Linked DNA regions of Homo sapiens: all the other regions are linked to region 6. Evidence: promoter capture Hi-C in 16 types of primary human blood cells and fetal thymus (Javierre and others, 2016). All regions are on one chromosome and are shown on one strand. The core of a region is centred on a gene start or on the middle of the fragment in contact, and the rest is flanking DNA. Distances in the headings are between cores, read along the strand shown. Region 1 has its middle 7.1 kb from the start of ALPP. Region 2 holds the start of ALPI (alkaline phosphatase, intestinal). Region 3 overlaps DIS3L2 (DIS3 like 3'-5' exoribonuclease 2). Region 4 holds the start of ALPG (alkaline phosphatase, germ cell). Region 5 has its middle 22 kb from the start of ALPI. Region 6 holds the start of DIS3L2 (DIS3 like 3'-5' exoribonuclease 2). Region 7 has its middle 37 kb from the start of ALPP.

Region 1 (2,826 bases), core at 77-2,576, 420 kb after region 6:
TGTCTGGAAAAATATATACATGTATTTGAGGACCTGGCTCTCTCAGGACAGTTTTTTTTCTTTTCTAATTCTAGGTTTTAGTGGCTGTCATAAAAATATGGGAGGTGAACAGAAGGTAGACACCATTAGCTGGCCTTACTAAATCATCATACTCATTGTTACATTCCATCCACCAAATATGCAAAGGTTTTGGTAAAATCCAGCTAGTGTATTTCTATCTTCCCAGTTGTCAGTGGGTTAGAAAGTTCCTCTTTCTAACCAATGTGGAGGTGCTGCATGTTTAGGTTTTACATGAGTGCTCACACCCAAGGACTTCTATATTTTAAAAGTGAAGACATTTTAAAAACAGATTATTCTGGCCAGGAGTTGTGGCTCATGCTTGTAATCCCAGCCTTTTGGGAGGCCGAGACAGGCAGATCACTTGAGGTCAGAAGTTTGAGACCAGCCTGGCCATCATGGTGAAATCCTGTCTCTACTAAAAATACAAAAATTAGCCAGGTGTGGTGGCAGGCACTCGTAATCCTAGCTACTCAGGAGGCTGAGACAAGAGAATCGCTTGAATCCGGGAGGCAGAGGTTGCAGTGAGCCGAGATCGCACCATTGCACTCCAGCCTGGGTGACGAGAGTGAAACTCCATCCCAAGAAGAAGAAGAAGAAGGAAGAAGAAGAAGGAAGAAGAAGAAGAAGAAGAAGAAGAAGAAGAAGAAGAAGGAGGAGGAGGAGGAGGAGGAGGAGGAGGAGGAGGAGGAGGAGGAGGAGGAAAAGAAGAAGAGGAGGAGGAAGAGGAAGAGGAGGAGGAAGAAGAGGAAGAAGAAGAAGAGGAGGAAGAGGAAGAGGAAGAAGAGGAAGAAGAAGAAGAAGAAAAAGAAGAAGAAGAAGAGGAAAAAGATTATTCTGAAATTAGGTCATTCTGTTCTCAAGCTTCCTTTTCCTGTGTAGGTATGAGTGTTTATGAGTCTAATACATTGTTTACCCCAAAATCAAGTGTCAAATAAATATTTTCAAACTTCTGCTCAAAAATTTGCTCTTTCCTTAGCAAGAGTTTTGTTTTGTTTGAGACAGAGTTTCGCTCTTATTGCCCAGGCTGGAGTGCAATGGCGCGATCTCGGCTCACTGCAACATCTGCCTCCCGGGTTCAAGCAATTCTCCTGCCTCAGCCTCCTGAGTAGCTGCGATTACAGGCACCCGCCACCACGCCCAGCTAAGTTTTGGTATTTTTAGTACCCAAAGTTGATGAGTCGACCTGCTCCACGCGTAATTTCAAGGTGGTCACGTTGGGGTCACCCCTTGCAGCTTGTAGCTGCTGTGAACGCCAGAGAATGAAGTACTCAGACAATTCCAGCTGAGTGGGGCAGGCGGCAACTCCTCTGAGAGAGTGCCGCCCCAAAATCCATCCGCCAAGTATTTATTAGAAGGCTTGTTAAACCACAAACATCCACCAGATGGGTTTTTGCCGTGGGGTCATGAGGCACATACGGCCTTGTAAAAGCACTCAGACCACATTCCTAGGAGGCTGTTTTCAGCGCTCCTTATCACACATTCCACTCCTTGTCCTGTTTTCAGTGTCAAGGAGTTACATTCTCACGCACAAACAACGTACACACAGTGCCTCAGTATTTTTCCATGCCTCGAGCTCAAATGCCTTGTACATAAGTTTGAATATATCGTCGTGCACCCCCCACATCTCCCCCTTCTTTAATTCTTAGAGCTTGCTGGTTATCCAACGCAAAATAAGCTTCTATCCTTCTTCCCTGGTCATAGATGCTTCGGGTGGCAGCACAGAGCCATTTACAGAAGCCTAGCAATCAGATACAAAAAAGAATATAGCGGCCATCACCCTAGCAATCAGATACAAAAAAGAATATAGCGGCCATCACCCAAATGCGTATGTTTAACCCAGACAACCAAGTATTCGGGTTCAGTCATTGAAAGCCTTCTTGTAATTGCTGAAGGGTATTTGTTTGTAATTGCTGCGAGACCATTCTTCAAGTTGTTTCTTCAACTAGACCTCAAATGCTTTGTACATAAGCTTGAATATATTGCCGCGCACCCCACCCGCTCCCCACTGCCTGCCAGAGGGCTGGGAAATGGCTGCACCGCTGAACACCGCAGTTACCCCGGGGAAATTACTTATGACCTCCTCCCGCGCGCTGCCACTGTGCGCTCCCTCCCCTCCCCTGCTTTCCCTTCCTCTCCTCTCGCGCACCCTCCTCCCGCCCTCAGGGACCCCTGGGCAAGGCCACTGCGCCCCGGGTCTACGGCAGCTGGCGGGGCGCTCAACGCGCGCACTCACACGGACGACGTAGCGCAAAGAGTTCCTGTCGTCCAGGCTGACCATAAGCGAGAAGAGCGCGGCGGCGCTGTACACGCCCTGCACTTTTTTACAGCAGCCAGTTGAGGTCCCATCGCGCAGCAACCCCCCGGCGCTCCGCCGCGCCGCGCAGGTCCCAGCCCCCGCAGTCCTCGATGACCTCCAGCATGAGCAGCGGGTTCAGTCGTTCGATCTCGCGCATCTCGAGGCACAAGCGGAAGAAGGAGCGCACCTAGTGCTGGGCAGCGCCGCCGGGTCCACCCTTGGGCCGAGCCAGCAGGCGCCGCAGGCGCTCCTCGTTCTGCTAGCCGATGGCCGCGATGGTGCCGTAGGTGAGCTTGTCGTCGGGGATGGCATGGCGCCGCAGCCAGCCGCCGCAGGCGAACGAGTATAAGTCCTGGCATGGGTCGATGCTGGCGTCCAGGTTGGCGGCCAAGAAGCGAGCGGTGCACGCGAAGTCTTGCGCTCAGGACAGCCTTCAGGACAGGCTCCGCCGCCGGCCGCGACCGGGCCCA
Region 2 (2,700 bases), core at 78-2,577, 490 kb after region 6:
GTGGGGAGTGGGGCAGGGCAGGCAGAGGCTGGGCAGCAGGTGAGGTCCCCTGGGTTCTGAGGGCCAAGCCTGGGGTTTGAGGTAAACAGGCTCGAGTGGAGAAGGGGCTGCTGTGGTTGGGCTGGGGTGGGTGGAGCTGGAGGAGCCTTTTCTTCTTGAACCAGTTTTTGAATTGTGCTACAAAACACGGTACATCAAGTTTACCTCCTTCACCATTTTCAAGTGTACAGGGCGGCAGTGTTGAGTACACGCACAGTGTTGTGCAGCTGATCTCCAGAACATTCTCATCCTGCAACCTTGAAGCTCTGTCCCTATTAAACTCCAACTCTAACCCTAACCCCAACCCTAACCCATTGCCTCCTCCCTCAGCCTCAGGCAACCTCCATTCCACTTCTGTCTCTATGTATTTGACTCCCCTCGGGACCTCAGAGAAGTGTGTTCGTGCGTATTTGTTCTTTTGCACTGGTATATTTCACTGAGCATAATGTCCTAAGGTTCATCCATGTTGTAGCAGGTGTCAGGGTCGCCTTTGTTTTCAAGGCTGCGTGATACTCCATTGTATGTGTGCACCCTGTTTGGTTTCTCCATTTCTCTTTTGCTGGACACTTGGGTAGCTTCCAGCTCTTGGCTGCTGTGGATAATGCTGCTGGGAACATGGGTGTGCAGTTATCTGTTCGAGTCCCTAGTTCGCATTCCTTTGGCTACACACTCAGAGTGGGATGTCTGGACTGAAGCAATACTTTTGAACTCAGCCTGAGGTTACCAAACTCTCTGAACTCCTTATCAGAGGCTACACTTCTGGGTGTTCCCCGGGGCCCATGGAAAACAGACTCACCCCAGGCTCCATCTACCTGTGCAAGGGAACAGGGGTCAACCTCAAGTGCACAGGCTGCTCTGGAAGACCCAGCCCAGGTCTGGCTGACCCAGAGCACTGGCCCCTTCCCAGCCTGCGTCCTCAGGACATAGGTGTGGGCACCCATATACACCAAGTGGGTTCTAGGGCAGCCAGGCCACCCAGTGTGCCTCCTTTCACACTCCTCTGGGGCTCGTGACATTACGAGCCCTAACCCGGGCCCTGGCCTAGGCTGTGTGTTTCCAGTCTCACCTCTCTTCACACCTTGAATGAGGTGAATGAAGGAGTGGCAACGCGTCTCCCACAAGACACTGTGAGCCACACCCAGTCCCTTCCCTTCAGCAAGCTTGGCTTCAGGTCACAGGACTGGGCGGGGTCAAGATGGACACCAGGGGTGTGGGGAGGGACGTGGAGCATTTACAGCCAGGGGCAAAGTCCTCCCCTGATTTAAACCCAGGCAGCCTGCGCTGCAGCCGGTTCCTGGTGTCCCCACTTCGCCTCCCTCCTGCTGCCCCCAAGACATGCAGGGGCCCTGGGTGCTGCTGCTGCTGGGCCTGAGGCTACAGCTCTCCCTGGGCGTCATCCCAGGTAATGAGGCTCCCCAAGCTGTTCCACACACAGGGCACCCCCTCAGCCAGGCTGACCTGATCTCTACTCTCCCCCTGGCCAGCTGAGGAGGAGAACCCGGCCTTCTGGAACCGCCAGGCAGCTGAGGCCCTGGATGCTGCCAAGAAGCTGCAGCCCATCCAGAAGGTCGCCAAGAACCTCATCCTCTTCCTGGGCGATGGTGAGTGAGCAAGGCCTGTCCAGCCCCGTAGTCCTCACAGCCCCGGCACCCGGGACCTTCAGTGGTTCCAGGACAACCCTGGGGCCCAGGACTCACACATTTCTGCTCCTTCAGGGTTGGGGGTGCCCACGGTGACAGCCACCAGGATCCTAAAGGGGCAGAAGAATGGCAAACTGGGGCCTGAGACGCCCCTGGCCATGGACCGCTTCCCATACCTGGCTCTGTCCAAGGTAAGGGCTGGGCCACCTCAGAGTCCTCCAAGCAGAGGAGAGGGATCAAGGATATGGAGTGTGGCAGGAGGGAGGGAGCCAGGACAGCTGGGGCCTAAGTTAGGAGCTGGGAGCAGTTAGGATCCCAGAGGACCAGAACCAGGTCCTTGGTTGGGGTCTGGGTGTCCGCCCCGAAGTAGAGCTCAGGGTGTCTCCGTTCGCAGACATACAATGTGGACAGACAGGTGCCAGACAGCGCAGCCACAGCCACGGCCTACCTGTGCGGGGTCAAGGCCAACTTCCAGACCATCGGCTTGAGTGCAGCCGCCCGCTTTAACCAGTGCAACACGACACGCGGCAATGAGGTCATCTCCGTGATGAACCGGGCCAAGCAAGCAGGTGAGCTGGGGCCCGCTGTGGGGTCAGGACCAGGCCCAAGATCTCGGTCACCGATCCTGACCTCTGTCACCCTCAGGAAAGTCAGTAGGAGTGGTGACCACCACACGGGTGCAGCACGCCTCGCCAGCCGGCACCTACGCACACACAGTGAACCGCAACTGGTACTCAGATGCTGACATGCCTGCCTCAGCCCGCCAGGAGGGGTGCCAGGACATCGCCACTCAGCTCATCTCCAACATGGACATTGACGTGCGACCCCCGGGCCAAGGGCTGGGGCTGGGCAGAGGGGAAGGTGGCACAGGCTCAGATCCAGGCAACCAAAAGCCTGATCTGGGTCAGCAGGTTCTGGAGGTGGAGTTGGGGATGTAGAATGTGCAATACAGGCTGGGCCATTCCCACAGCCCTGGGGAGGGGAGCCAGGGGCTATGCATGAGGAGGGGGCACGGGGCCAG
Region 3 (2,700 bases), core at 20-2,519, 300 kb after region 6:
TAGGTCAAAAACCACGGGGTCATTCTTGACTTTGGTCTTTCTCTCATGCTACATCTGCATCCAGTCTGCCAGTGTGTCATCGCTGCTTTGCTTTCTGAATGCCTCCAGAATCAGCCCCCTTCCTTAACTACCGGCACTAATACCTGCGTCCAAGCTATTCTCTCTCACCTTGACAGATACAGTGGCCTCCTGACTGTCCTTGCAGCCTCTGCTCTTGCCCCACGTCATCTCCTCTGCATACAGCTGTCAGAGTGATCCTTCTGAATCTTAAGCCTTGTCTCTCCATTAAAACTTTCCAATCTCTCATTCACAATAAAAGATAAAACGCCCCCTTACAATGGTAACTTTTTCCTTGTTCTTTTCTGCCTGTCTTCTGTGCTGGAAATGCATAGACTCCAGAGTCTTCCTGCAACCAGCATCTCCTCTCATGTCCTGGAGCATTGCTGCTCACAGGAGAGAAGCTGCCTTTTATGTGTAACTGAGCTCTCTGCTGTGCTGCAGGCCCCCTCCCCAGCTCCAGGGACCTGACATCAGTCAAGGTTGAGTTTCCCCACCTGCCATCTTCTCATATCCTTCAAGCCTCTGCCCCTTCCTTGTAGCTGAGCAGATCTTTTCCTCCCTGCTTAACTCATTCCATTCTGAGAATTGGACATTGTAGAACTATGTTGTGTACCAGTTGGGGCTTTCTCAGCTGAACCTTCAGTGCTACTTGGGAATCCTTTTATTCGTCACTAGGTTCCAAGCCTTTTTTCTTCGGTTCCAACCTCAACCTTGCTTTCCACTCCTCTTTCCTTTAAGACCCATCATTCTCCCAAGTACCTTTCATTCCTCCTTCTTGGAAACGAGAGAGGCTAGCCAACTTCAACTGCTGAGGTCCCCCTTTCCACATCAAAATTTCTCTCTGCCTTGCCGCTACTTAGGAGGCTGAGGCAGGAGGATCACTTGATCAGATTGAGAACAGATCGAGACCCTGTTTCTAAAATATAAATGAATGAATAAATAAATAAATATTTGGCTGGGCATGGTGGCTCATACCTTTAATCTCAGCACTTTGGGAGGCTGAGGTGGGCAGATCACCTGAGGTCAGGAGTTCAAGACCAGCTTGGCCAACATGGTGAAACCCTGTCTCTACTAAAAATACAAAAATTAGCCAGGCATGGTGGTGGGCACCTGTAGTCCCAGCTACTTGGGAGGCTGAGGCAGGAGAATTGCTTGAACCCAGGAGGCAGAAGTTGCAGTGAGCCACCTGTGAAGAGAAAGCGAGCATTCTGCTGGGTGTATAAGTGGATTGTGTGCAATGGTGCTTCAGTCTAGATATTCATGCCTTAATCTTACTGTGTTCGTCTCTCCCTTTTTCAGGGGAAGCCTGAGCTTTGCTTAGTGATGATGGCCCTAGTGTGAGGACTGGGGCTTGTGGAGTAGCCTCTTGTTTGCTCTAGCCACCCCACTGCCTCTGTCCTCTGCAGTTACTAGGACCTTCCCTAGCAAGTTTGCGTCCTTTCCACCACAGGCATGACCTGCCTCTCTCTGCTCTCTTCCAGCCCGTCCTCTCTCTGCCTAGTCCTTTTCAGACACTTGCTTCTTGGCACCTTTGACTTTTCTCACTGCCGGGCTGCCCCTACTAAGGATGATTGCCCTGTTTTCGTAGCTCTAAGAAGCAGCCAAAATCCACTCCACCTCCCTCCCACCCTCCGTCACTCCAAACAGCCTGGTTTTGTTCCAGTCAGGAAAAGGTTTCTTTCTTCCTCATATTTTTTTGAACAAAATATTTTGCATACGGAAGCCCGGAGCTCCTGCAAAAGTGATTTTGTACCTAATTATTTAAGATTATAAGTTAACCCCACTTGCAGTTTTTTCAGCCAGAGATACATCTTAATGAAGTGCTGACATTTTTCAGAGGATAAATTTAAAGATACATTTGAATGGAACTGAATAATTTTCAAAGGAAGTGGTCATACTTCTGTATCAATATAGAAAGTTGATGTGTGTTTGAGACATACTTGGTTTATTTTACTTCATCATCTGCCTCTGTCTAATTTATGACCTTCACCTGAAATGGAATAAAAGTAACACTAGATTTTGGGTCTGTCTTTAACTGGATCTGGTCTTGGCCGCCACTTAGGAGTTTGTATGACTTTTGACAAGTTCCTGGCCTGTTTTCTCAACTGTAAAATGGGCTGAACAATGCACTCCTCCCAGATGTGTTAAGGAGATTTTAGAAGTAGTAGGTTTAAGAATACTCCGAGTGTTAGACTACTTCCGGTCTTACTTAGTACAGTAGGTAGGCCTTGAATTACAGTGCTGTAGTACATAATTATGTACTCCTTTTTCAGTAGTTTTTTCCCAGTAATACGCCTTCAGTCAGTGTTGGCACTGTATTTAATTTGACATTCTGAACAGTGGTATTCCAGAGTATGTGCAGTAAACTCACCTGCCTACAGAAGAGTGACCCAAATCCTGTGATTAAGAAAGAAAAGAGGGGCCAGGTGTGGTGGCTCATGCCTGTAATCCCAGCACTTTGGGAGGCCAAAGCGGGCGGATCACGAGGTCTGGAGTTAGAGACCATCCTGGCCAACATGGTGAAACCCCGTCTCTACTAAAAATACAGAAAATGAGCCGGGCATGGTGGCATGTGCCTGTAGTCCCAGCTACTCAGGAGGCTAAGGCAGGAGAATCACTTGGACCCGGGAGGCGGAGGTT
Region 4 (2,864 bases), core at 351-2,850, 450 kb after region 6:
GGACCACAGGTGCCTGCCACCACGCCCGGCTAATTTTTTGTATTTTTAGTAGAGACAGGGTTTCACCGTGTTAGCCAGGATGGTCTCGATCTCCTGACCTTGTGATCCACCCGCCTCGGCCTCCCAAAGTGCTGGGATTACAGGCGTGAACCACTGTGCCCGGCCTTCAAACCACATTTTCTAGGAAAGGCCTTCCTAGGCCCCTTGTCCTATTCCAGCAACTCCCCACAATTTGATGGCCAGCACTTTGTACATCTCTAAAAACATTCCTCTTCCACTAGATTGTGCCCTCCACAAGGGCAGAGGTCTGTTTTGCCCACGATTGTGGCACATGTCACACACCCTTGAGCACTCTGGTTCCTCTCCAAATCCATTTCTCCTGAATGTGGGCCCAGATTGGTGGCTCAAGTCTGGAACCCTAGCAGTGTTGAAGGATCGCCTGAGCCCAGGAGTGCAAGACCAGCACGGGTAACAGAAAGAGATCCTGACTCTACACAAATTTTTGAAAATTAGCTTCACATAATGGAAGATACACGGGAGGCTGATGTGGGAGGATCGCTTGAGCCTAGGAGGTGTGGCGTGAATGCACCACTGCACTCCAACTTGGGTGACAGAGCCAGCCCCTGTCTCAAAAAAATAAATAAATAATAATAATAAAACAGAAAGAAAAAAATGATGGCAAGGTATCTGAACTGCAGAAATACTTTTTAACTCAGCCTGAGGCTATCAAAACATCTGATCCCCATGTGAAAGGCTACAGTTCTGGGCATGCTCAGGGCCCACCGAAAACAGAGTCCGCCCAGGCACCCTCTGCCTGTGCAAGGGAACAGGTGTCACAATCAAGTGCACAAGCTGCTCTGGAAGACCCAGCCCAGGCCTGTCTGGCCGAGGGCACTGGACTCTCCCCCACTGCGTCGTCCAAACATTAGTGCGAGTGCACCCACACAAACACATACACAATCAAACACAACATGTAAGCAATGGGCAGGACTGGCCCGGCCCCACTCAGTGTTGTCACCATTGGCCCCACAGATGCCCACAGCCCTGGAGCTCTGGGCCTAGATTCCTGCCAGCCCCACCTGTCCAGGCCAAGGCCAGATGTTGGAGCAAGGGGGTGCCAGAGCGGCAAAGCCCCCCATGTGCCCCTTTCCCACCGGGCCCAGGCTCCTGGCATCAGAAAGCTGAACCCAGTATCTGGCCCGGGCTGTGTGCTTCCAGCCTCCCCTCCTCTCGACACCAGAACAGAGCCTGGCCCCCAGCTCCCAGGAAATACAGAAAAAAAAAATGGTGGATGAACGAGTGACAGGGTGTCTAGTTCCACACAAGACACAGTGAGCAGGGGTTGGGGGAGGGGCCCCTGGCGGCAGGATGCACACTGCACTATACCCAAAATCCCACCCTTCCCTGGGGGACACCTGGTCCCACCCTAAGCTGCCTTTCTCAGGACCCCAGCCCCAGCCCAGCCCAGCCACACCCTGCCACTCCCTTCAGCCAGTGTGGCTTCAGGTCAAGAGGCTGGGCGGGGTCAAGGTGGTAACAAGGGGAGGGGCCAGGACACAGTTTTCCCTGATTTAAACCCAGGCAGCCTGGAGTGCAGCTCATACTCCATACCTGGGATTTCCGCCTCGCCGCTCTCCGACTGCTTCCAGACATGCAGGGGCCCTGGGTGCTGCTCCTGCTGGGCCTGAGGCTACAGCTCTCCCTGGGCATCATCCCAGGTAATGAGGCTCCCCCAGCTGCCCCTACACACACACACACACACAGGGCACCCCCCAGCCCAGGCTGACCTGATCTTTGCTCTCCCCCTGGCCAGTTGAGGAGGAGAACCCGGACTTCTGGAACCGCCAGGCAGCCGAGGCCCTGGGTGCCGCCAAGAAGCTGCAGCCTGCACAGACAGCCGCCAAGAACCTCATCATCTTCCTGGGTGACGGTGAGTGAGCCAGGCCTTCCAGCCCCGCAGCCCTCACAGCCCCGGCGCCCGGACCCTCAGTGGTTCCAGGACAGCCCTGGGGAGCAAGCCTCACACACTTCTGCTCCTTCAGGGATGGGGGTGTCTACGGTGACAGCTGCCAGGATCCTAAAAGGGCAGAAGAAGGACAAACTGGGGCCTGAGACCTTCCTGGCCATGGACCGCTTCCCGTACGTGGCTCTGTCCAAGGTAAGTGCTGGGCTACCTTAGAGTCCTCCAAGCAGAGAAGGGGAATCCTGGCTATGGAGTGTGGTAGGAGGGAGGGACCCTAAACAGCTGGGGCTCCAATAAGGAGCTGGAGGCAGTTGGAATCCCAGAGGACAGAGATCAGGGTCTTGTTTGTCTGCCCCAGAGAAGAGCTCAGAGTGTCTCTGTCCCCAGACATACAGTGTAGACAAGCATGTGCCAGACAGTGGAGCCACAGCCACGGCCTACCTGTGCGGGGTCAAGGGCAACTTCCAGACCATTGGCTTGAGTGCAGCCGCCCGCTTTAACCAGTGCAACACGACACGCGGCAACGAGGTCATCTCCGTGATGAATCGGGCCAAGAAAGCAGGTGAGCTGGGGCCCGCTGTGGGGTCAGGGCCAGGTGACAGACCTCTATCGCATATCCTGACCTCTATCACCCTCAGGAAAGTCAGTGGGAGTGGTAACCACCACACGGGTGCAGCATGCCTCGCCAGCCGGCGCCTACGCCCACACGGTGAACCGCAACTGGTACTCGGATGCCGACGTGCCTGCCTCGGCCCGCCAGGAGGGGTGCCAGGACATCGCCACGCAGCTCATCTCCAACATGGACATTGATGTGCGACCCCCGGGCCAAGGGCTGGGGCTGGGCAGAGAGTAGCAGGGAGGGGGCACCAGCTCAGACCCAGGCAACCAAAAGCCTTATCTG
Region 5 (2,723 bases), core at 43-2,542, 470 kb after region 6:
GTGTCCCAGCCCAGCCAGGCGGTGGCTGCAGGGGCCCATGCGTGTGCGCCTGTGCCTGTGACCAGCCTCAGGGCCTAGGGGCAGGGAGCAGACCAGGGGAAAGGCTCTGTCCCTGGGGGGTGGCCGGGCAGGTGGAGAGCCAGGTTCAGATGGGTGACCCTGGGCTCTGCAGCTGCTGTGATCCTGGCAGAGGGGAGGAGGCGCCCTCGGCAGTCAGGAGCAGGATGATGGTAGTGACAAGGCCCTGCTGTGGACTGAGCCTCCCAGCCTAGGAAACCTGGCTCTGGCCTCCCCTGCAGCATGTGATGTTTGGCTCCAGAGGCCTTCTCCTCTGGGCTTTTCCATGCCTGTGAACTGGGCCCCATTCATTTCCCTGTGGTTTCATGGAAACGTCCAGTGCATTCAGGAGGTTGCAGTGTGCCCAGGAGGAGAGGGGTCAGCGAGAGGCACGAGCTGTGACTGGTGGGCCACCCAGAGGCCACGGCACCCTCTGCTGGAGACTGGCAGCAGGGTGCATGGCCAGCTGTGGGTGGGGGTCCATCAGTCAAGCAGCTGCACTTTCTCCCCATCCCCCTCCCCGACCCAGGCAAGGTGCTCTGCCTGCGGCTCCCTTTCTCCAGGCCTCCACTTTCCAGCTCCCAGGCACCCAGCCCCACCCGGCCTGGCCTGGAACAGAGCTGCCACCAAGATCTCTTCCACTTTCCCTCCCCAGCAGCCTGCAATTCAGTGCTCCGTAGACCCCTGCCTCCCGGGGCCCTGCGGTTCCCACCACACTACACTCAATTTCCAGCTGCTAAGAACACAGCAGGTTCTACGTAAAGGTGGCCGTCACCTGCACCCCATGGGCTGCCCGGCCATGGAGAACGGGCCATGGTTGGGTACACAGCTTCTGAGACAGGCCCAGCAGCTGCCTTCATGGCCTCGGCAGAGCCCAGGGCTCTGGAGCTTACAGGGAGCATGTGCTCAAGTGTGGAAAATTTGGTCTGCAGAAGAAATGAGGCTGAAATTGGCTGGGAGCAATTCTTATCAAAGCCACGTTAGCAGTTTTCAGCAAGAGCTAATTGAACAAGCTCTGTGAGTGGCCTCATTCCATTAGCAGGAGCCTCCCACAGAGCGTGACAAGGGCCCTGGTGGCTGAGGGCAGAAGAGGCTGTTTCTGTCCCACATTTGCCTTTGGCCTTTGAAAATGGACACATTTTCAGCTTTGGGCACTGGTCCTGCTCCTCTGCCCCGGCTCCCGCTCATTTCCAAAGCCACTCTCTGAGTGTCCTGTGTGGGGAAGGGGTGAGGTGAGTTTCTCAGCACTTCAGCAGGTGCGTGGATCTGAAACAGGACAGCCTTGGAGACACGTCCTCCTTGCCAGGCAGGGTTGAGAGGCCAAGTGCAGAGGAGCCGAGAGTCTGAGGGCCAGGCCCGAGCAGTCTAGGTCAGGAGATTGGGCCCTGCCTTAGCAACGTGCCTGGGCCTGAGGAGAGACCCACTGCCGGCCCAGTCTCCCTCGACTCCTCTGGAGCCATGGAGTCCTCAGGGAGGGGACAGGAGGCAGCTGGGGTGTGGCCAGGCCAGAGCTGAGCTGATGGAACCTGAACCCCACTTTGTGGGGTGGCCATGCTCTCTGCTTTCTCCTCTCTGCTGTGCCCAGTAGACTGGAAAAGATAGATCCAGGGGTGCAGTCCTCTGACCTGAGCTCCAGGGTCACCTGTCTGGCCTCCAGCCTGTTTCCTCCATGCTAGGGCTGTCAGGGCAAGTGTCTGACCTGGGCCCGCAGGGCGCTGGTCAAGGGGCCCAGGGAGGTGGGGTCCAGCCCTCTGTGCCCCTGACTGACTGTCTGATCTGGGCAAGGTCCTTCATCTCTTGGCCACTGTCACATGGCTTGGGCGACACTCCTCAGTGCCTCCAGGATGCTGTAAGGAAGCGGCATCTGACTGCACCCACCCTTTCTGCAGGGACCATGGTCAGGACAGAGCTGTGGACACTGAGCAGGGGCTGGCCTCAGGACCCACCCAGACAGGCCTCCTCATCTCCCCCAACACCACAGCGGTGCTCCGTCCTGGGAGCTGGCCAGTTGCCCTCCCCAGGACAGGACCTCAGGCTTCCACCCTGAGCTCCTTCCTCCTGCCCTGGGCCCTGCGGGCTGTCCCATAAGCTGGCTGCTCTCCTGGGGTCTTTCCCTCTGTGAGCTCCTCTGCAGATACATTCCGGCCTTTGGGATGCTTCAGACAGCAAGCAGGAAGCAGACAGACACCCCGCATCTCCCCCAGGCCAACTCCGGCCCCATCAGCAGCAACCTGGTGGGGAACTGTCCACACCTGCCAGTCTCCCTCCCTCCGTCCTCTTGGGTTTCTGAACCAGCCTCTCCAGCCGCACTGCCACTGTGACTTACTCCTTCTGGCCAAATCCAAGGGCCCTGTGCAAGCCCCTGCTCTTCTTGGCAGCTCTCACACTGGGGACAACCCGCAGGCTCCTCTGAAGTCCCAGAGCTGCTTCTCGGCCACTTCCTACTGCCTCTGCCTGGGAGCTTATCAGCTCCTGCCCCGCTGTGCCCAGTTGGGAAGAGGGCGCCCTTGTGGCCCCCAGTCTCCAGCCTTGCTCTTTCTTTTCTTTTTTGAAATGAAGTATCACTCTGCCACCCAGGCTGGACTGCAGTGGCACAATCCTGGCTCACTGCAAGCTCTGGCTTCCAGGTTCAAGTGATTCTCTTACCTCAGCCTCCCGAGTAGCTG
Region 6 (2,700 bases), core at 182-2,681:
TGGCACGCGCCTGTAGTCCCAGCTACTCGGGACTGAGGCAGGAGAACTGCTTGAACCCAGGAGGCGGAGGTTGCAGTGAGCCGAGATCGCACCATTGCACTCCAGCCTGGGCGACAGAGCGATAGTCCGTCTCAAAAAAAAAAAAAAAAAAAAAAAGAGAAATATAGGCACAATTTAATGCATCTCTTTTCCTTTTTCAATATGGAGCATACGGTGGTTCAAGCATCTGTCCACATTGTATTCCCGAAGTTTGATCCCTACCCTGCCCTGCCCTCCCGTCTTTCCTTCCCTCTCTCTTTTTTTTTTTCTGGAGTGCAATGGTGCGATCTCGGCTCACTGCAACCTCCGCCTCCGGGGTTAAAGCGATTCACCAGCCTCAGCCTCCTGAGTAGCTGGGATTACAGGCATGTGCCACCACGTCTGGCTAATTTATTATTTTTAATAGGGACGGGGTTTCTCCATGTTGATCAGGCTGGTCTCGAACTCCCGACCTCAGGTGATCCGCCCGCCTCGGCCTCCCAAAGGGAAGTTTGATTTTTCTATGGTCACCAATGGACACTTGATCTCCATAGCTTGAGAATGGCGGCCATCCCCTCACTGGCATTCTTTCCTCTTGTGCTCTCCCGAACGTTCTGGCTGCTCTTTGGATTTCCTTTTCCTTTGCTCACATCTACAATATTGGTGTTTCCTAGGTCCCGTACTTAACGATTGTTTCCTCTCAACACGCTTCCCTGGGCGGGCTGAACTGTCGGGGGCTTTCTCGGCTGCGCTTCCTCTCTCACCTGAAACCCTCTTCCCAACCCTTTATACTAGGTCGACGTCTCCAACATCAGCTGCTCCCCACCCGTGTCTGGGTGGGCCCCTTGGGCAGGCTCCCCTAGTCTCCTTTCCTTCGATCATCCCCACGTGCAGGACGTCATCTGCTTGCTCTGCCATCAGCCTCACATCCTGAGGGCAGGGACCATGCGGGGGTTGTCCATCTCTGTATCCCCAGTGCCAGCACTGCACCTCGCCCCAAGCAGTTGTCCAATAAATGAGCAGTGAGTAAATGAAAGAATGAGCAAAGCCTTGTAACAGGAAAGGGGCCGGCGGCGTCTGCCGTGCAAGACCTGGCCCAGTGGAGCAGAGCCTGGAGGTTCAGGAGCCGGGTCTGGAAGGCTCCTTCCGGTGGAAGAGGGGCCCGGAGCCAGCCGGCGCCTGGCACAAGGCGTCTCAGAGGCCGCCCACTGGGAGCCAACCGTTGCAGCCAGTTGTCCCCGCGAGCGAGGCCGGAGAAGGCGCGGCGGCCCCTGGCCTGGCCATTTCGCCCTTGTCGCAGCTGAACCGCCGACTACGAGCTCCTGCACCGCGCACACACCCCGCGCGCTTCGCTCTCGGCCTCGCCCGGCCACCGTCGCTCTCTAGAACGCCGCGCCCGTGACCCGGAAGAGCATTCTCCTTAGCAACTGCGGGACTGCGGCGGCGCCGGCCTCCGGGGAGAAACGGTGAGGCCCTCACTCGCCTGCCCCCTGCACCGCCTAGTGCTGCACGACCCCCTCGGGACCGACCCGGGGTCTGGCCTCTGGGGGGCTCCGCGGCGCTTCGCCCGGCACCTGTGGTGGCGGCCCGGGACGAGCGTCTTCCGCCTCTGGCGTTGCTCCCCGGCCCACGCGTCTTCCCTGTCCCGCATCTCCCTCAATGTCCCCAGCTCCCCACTCTCCGCTCCTGACCGACCCGGCCTCCCAGGCCGCGCTTATAGCGCCGGGGCCCTTGTAGCCTAGGATGGCGTGAGGGGAGCGAGACCAGAATTAGAGCCTGTTGCTGTAGAGAGGACGCCTCCCGAGGCTCGGGTCACCTGTGGACGCGTTCTCTAGGGTCTTGATCGAGATGTTCAGGACTGGCAGGGATGGGGAGCCTCGGGAATCTTGAAGGGCAGCCGCTTAATTATAACATGTCCTTGACGTTTGCGCTTTCCACAGTGATACACTTTATCTCCTTTATTGATCATAGAGAGTTTTTTTTTTTAATAAACTTTTAGATATGGGGGATACGCATGCAGGTTAGTCACATGGGTATATTGCACCCAGGTATTGAGCATAGAACCCAGTAGGTAGTTTTTCAACCCACATCCCCCATCTCTCCCCTCCTTCCAGTAGTCTACAGTGTCTACCGTTACCTTTTTTTTTTTTTTTTGAGACGGAGTCTCATTCTGTCGCCCAGGCTGGAGTGCAGTGGCGCGATTCGGCTCACTGCAAGCTCCGCCTCCTGGGTTCATGCCATTCTTCTGCCTCAGCCTCCCGAGTAGCTGGGACTACAGGCGCCCGCCACCCCGCCCGGCTAATTTTTTTGTATTTTTAGTAGAGACGGGGTTTCACCATGTTAGTCAGGATGGTCTCGATCTCTTGACCTCGTGATCCGCCCGCCTTGGCCTCCCAAAGTGCTAGGATTACAGGCGTGAGCCACCGCACCCGGCCGACTGTTCCCATGTTTATGTCCATGTGCGCTCAATGTTTCTACTCCCACTTGTAAGTGTGCTCAATGTTTAGCTCCCACTTATAAGTGAGAACGTGTGGTGTTTAGTTTTCTGTTCTTGTGCTAATTCGTTTAGGATTATGGCCTCCAGCTCCATCTGTGCTGCTGTAAAGGACATGATATCTTCCTTTTTTGTGGCTGCATAGTATTCCATCCTGTACATCCACATTTTTTTTTTCCAGTCCACCA
Region 7 (2,700 bases), core at 195-2,694, 380 kb after region 6:
CACACTGCTCATGCCTATCCGTGCACAGCCAGGGATTGCCCTTCGTGGAGGAAAACTTCATGAAACAAAAAACAAGCTCCGTGGGGAACACAGACCATAGAGGAAAAAGAAAGCTGTAGAAAAAGAAATGATGAATGCCTTCCTGGAGGTGAGAAAGCCATCGTGAAACGAGAGGAGGTTGCTCCAAAAAGTTCCTAGAGAGCAAAACAAGGGCCCTTGGAGGCACAATGATTGCCACCGTGGAGACACATTTCAGCGCCACTAGAGTAAAAACACTGCAGACAGGTGAGCTCTCAACAGATACATGTCCCTCGCCTTCTCAGGAAAGATGGGCAGTAATGAGGGCAGAAGCCACAAAGAGGAAACCGTAGTGACAGGACCCAGGGTCCTTCAAGCTGCGGTGGGGCAAGCGCTCGGGACAGTGGTGAGGGAGCAGCTCAGCCCCAGGTGGTGCCTGGCAACCCGCCCCGGGACGTCCCACCCAGGGCAGCAGTAGAGTGACATGGATAGAAAGCTGAATTCCCCAGAAGAGCCTGGAGGACATTGAAGTACTTCGCATAGAGCCTCGGGTTGGATTAGTAGTACATACAGAATGATCCACATGTGAAGATAAGACCATGATTGGCTCCAGAGAAAACAGCAGTGCAAGCAAGAAGAGGTAGCTAGTCACAGTTTACGATCTGGCAATAGCGTTTACACAGTCATCACCATAGAAATGCCGAGTCAGGATCTAGTTTACTGCAGAACTCTATCAGGAGGACTGGAAGATGGGGACGCTGTCCACATGCAGGGAATGCAGTTGGTGAAATGGAAGCTAAATGCTCATTTTCCTCAGTGGGAAGCTGTGGCTTGAAGATGACTGTAAACTCTCTTTCCGCCTCTTCAATCTTGACAGGCCCCAGGGCTGCTAAGCTAATATGGCAGAAGGGACACTGTGCCAGTTGCAGGCCCAGGCCTTAAGAGACTGGCAGCTTCCCCTCTCTGTCTCTGGAAACCTACCTGCCCTTCTGTAAGGAAGCCCAAGCAGCTCTGGAGAAGCCCTTATGGAGGGGCCCACTCTCAGCCCACAGCCAGCACCAGTTGGGCAGCCACGCAGACCCCCAACCTGCAAGCCAGGCCCGCTGAGGCCTCAGTACACACAGGCAGTCCCATCAGCCCTGCCCAGATGGCAGTTTTGTGATCAAAATATAGACGATAGATGATTGTTTTTTAAGGTTGTTGGGGGTAGTTTGTCACACAACGATAGATAATAGAACATCAGTAGGCTGTGTGTGTGTGTGTGTGTGTGTAGCATATATATATACACATATACATATATACACATATACATATACACATACACATATATACACGTATACATATATACACATACATATATACACATATATACACATACATATATACACATACACATATATACACATACACACATACACATATACATATATACACATATATGCATATATACACATATATACATATATACACATAGCTTCAAATTCAGACATGAAGAAGTATCTTATTTAGCAACAGTGGTAAATAGTAAAACACCAAGAGAGAGGAAAGTGGTTGCCTCAGAGATGGGAAAATGCAAGGAGGGAGACGGAACTGCTGTTTGTTTTAACAAACCTTGTAGATCTGTTTGATACTTTAAACTACATTCACATATAACTTGGACAAAAGTAAAAACTGAAGTTGAAAAAAATGTATTCATGCTAATAGCACAGGAATGATCCACAATTGGATTCCAAGGCTTCTTGTACATTCAGCATAGGGTGTATGAAAGAGTCCACTATTCTAGCAACAGATAAAATTCCTACTGACACGCAACCTCAGGTTCCCACTCGTTTAGAAGGCTGCGTATGGTCTTCTACTTAAAGCCTCAAGTAGCAGTCATGGCAGTGACAAATCCTCATTGCCTCCATAGAACCTCTAGGCTCATGTGTGAGCCCAGGCTGGGCTGGGGCCCCTGGGAGCCCAGGGTGAGGGGCCAGTCCCTGGGCAGCTCCGTGAGCCAGGAGCAGCTGTGCCACCTGGGGAAGGGCTGCACGGTCGATGGGTCTTTTCTGCAGAAGAGTGTGCCCCAGCCCTTGCTGGGCACAGATCAAAGAGGTGTTCATGGGTCGAAATCACAGATTTCAAGGGCTGATAGGAGTCAGAGTGGGGGGGCTGGGAGGGCTGAGGCAGGTTAAAGATTTGAGAGGGGCTGCTGTGTCCACAGCTGCATCACACTGCTCTGCTGTCCCCTCCATGTTCCCCGGCACTGCCGCCTACCCTGGGGTCTTCTGGAAGTAACTGAAGGCCCCCTCAACCTGGCTCATCATCAAAGCAGACTGTTGACTAGCTGCAGGCAAATATGAAGAGGCTATTTCCTGTCACAAAAAGGCCATGCTGTATCTTTCTGAAGCTATGGAGCTGACGCAGGCTGAGTAGGCTCACCTTTCACTGGAATTGCAAAGGCCTAGCCACATGAAACCGCGCCTCCTCATCCAGGAGACACGGAAAAGGGCCCAGCAGAACGCAGACAAGGATGGGGCTGCCCATCTTCAGGCCTCTCACAGCCCCTCTGCTGAAGATGCAGAAGCACAGCCCTCCACAGAGGAACGCCTGCCTGAGACTCGGGGCATATGTGACAGGGATCCAGACACACGACTGTTTTTCCTTCAGCAACAGAGCCGTGTATTGGAAGCAAAGCCCCAA

What was found. Contacts are between HindIII fragments. The CHiCAGO score rates a contact against its expected background, and 5 or more counts as called.
Region 1: a contact is called between a fragment that was not itself captured here and the fragment with the promoter of DIS3L2 in region 6, in 1 of 17 cell types (neutrophils). The highest score is 5.4, in neutrophils.
Region 2: the fragment with the promoter of ALPI here is called in contact with the fragment with the promoter of DIS3L2 in region 6 in 2 of 17 cell types (naive B cells and M2 macrophages); the score reaches 8.9 in naive B cells.
Region 3: a contact is called between a fragment that was not itself captured here and the fragment with the promoter of DIS3L2 in region 6, in 1 of 17 cell types (fetal thymus). The highest score is 5.2, in fetal thymus.
Region 4: the fragment with the promoter of ALPG here is called in contact with the fragment with the promoter of DIS3L2 in region 6 in 6 of 17 cell types (neutrophils, fetal thymus, monocytes and 3 more); the score reaches 7.0 in neutrophils.
Region 5: a fragment that was not itself captured here is called in contact with the fragment with the promoter of DIS3L2 in region 6 in 1 of 17 cell types (naive CD8 T cells); the score reaches 6.6 in naive CD8 T cells.
Region 7: a fragment that was not itself captured here is called in contact with the fragment with the promoter of DIS3L2 in region 6 in 1 of 17 cell types (neutrophils); the score reaches 5.4 in neutrophils.

Annotation. Positions count from the first base shown.
Region 1 is chr2:232,384,407-232,387,232 of GRCh38, forward strand. It overlaps the pseudogene ECEL1P2. Among named protein-coding and RNA genes, the nearest start is that of ALPP, 7.1 kb to the left of the region's middle. The HindIII fragment of the contact is 814 bases long and covers 920-1,733 here.
Region 2 is chr2:232,454,826-232,457,525 of GRCh38, forward strand. It overlaps ALPI (alkaline phosphatase, intestinal), which reads left to right and starts at 1,328. Exons shown (of 11, transcript NM_001631.5): 1 at 1,328-1,441; 2 at 1,524-1,640; 3 at 1,755-1,870; 4 at 2,074-2,248; 5 at 2,325-2,497. The coding sequence starts at 1,375. The HindIII fragment of the contact is 3,629 bases long and covers 1,198-2,700 here.
Region 3 is chr2:232,255,823-232,258,522 of GRCh38, forward strand. All of the region lies in intron 12 of DIS3L2 (DIS3 like 3'-5' exoribonuclease 2), which reads left to right. Among named protein-coding and RNA genes, the nearest start is that of MIR562, 85 kb to the left of the region's middle. The HindIII fragment of the contact is 3,979 bases long and covers 1-2,700 here.
Region 4 is chr2:232,405,244-232,408,107 of GRCh38, forward strand. It overlaps ALPG (alkaline phosphatase, germ cell), which reads left to right and starts at 1,601. Exons shown (of 11, transcript NM_031313.3): 1 at 1,601-1,718; 2 at 1,814-1,930; 3 at 2,043-2,158; 4 at 2,351-2,525; 5 at 2,602-2,774. The coding sequence starts at 1,652. RefSeq lists an enhancer at 1,665-2,864. The HindIII fragment of the contact is 10,567 bases long and covers 1-2,864 here.
Region 5 is chr2:232,432,961-232,435,683 of GRCh38, forward strand. No RefSeq gene overlaps it. Among named protein-coding and RNA genes, the nearest start is that of ALPI, 22 kb to the right of the region's middle. RefSeq lists an enhancer at 1-34. The HindIII fragment of the contact is 6,734 bases long and covers 1-2,723 here.
Region 6 is chr2:231,960,282-231,962,981 of GRCh38, forward strand. DIS3L2 (DIS3 like 3'-5' exoribonuclease 2) reads left to right here and starts at 1,432. Exons shown (of 21, transcript NM_152383.5): 1 at 1,432-1,484. RefSeq lists an enhancer at 1,310-1,399 and a silencer at 1,530-1,689. The HindIII fragment of the contact is 14,565 bases long and covers 1-2,700 here.
Region 7 is chr2:232,340,831-232,343,530 of GRCh38, forward strand. It overlaps a transcript of DIS3L2 not described here and the pseudogene NRBF2P6. Among named protein-coding and RNA genes, the nearest start is that of ALPP, 37 kb to the right of the region's middle. RefSeq lists an enhancer at 2,011-2,520. The HindIII fragment of the contact is 5,996 bases long and covers 1-2,700 here.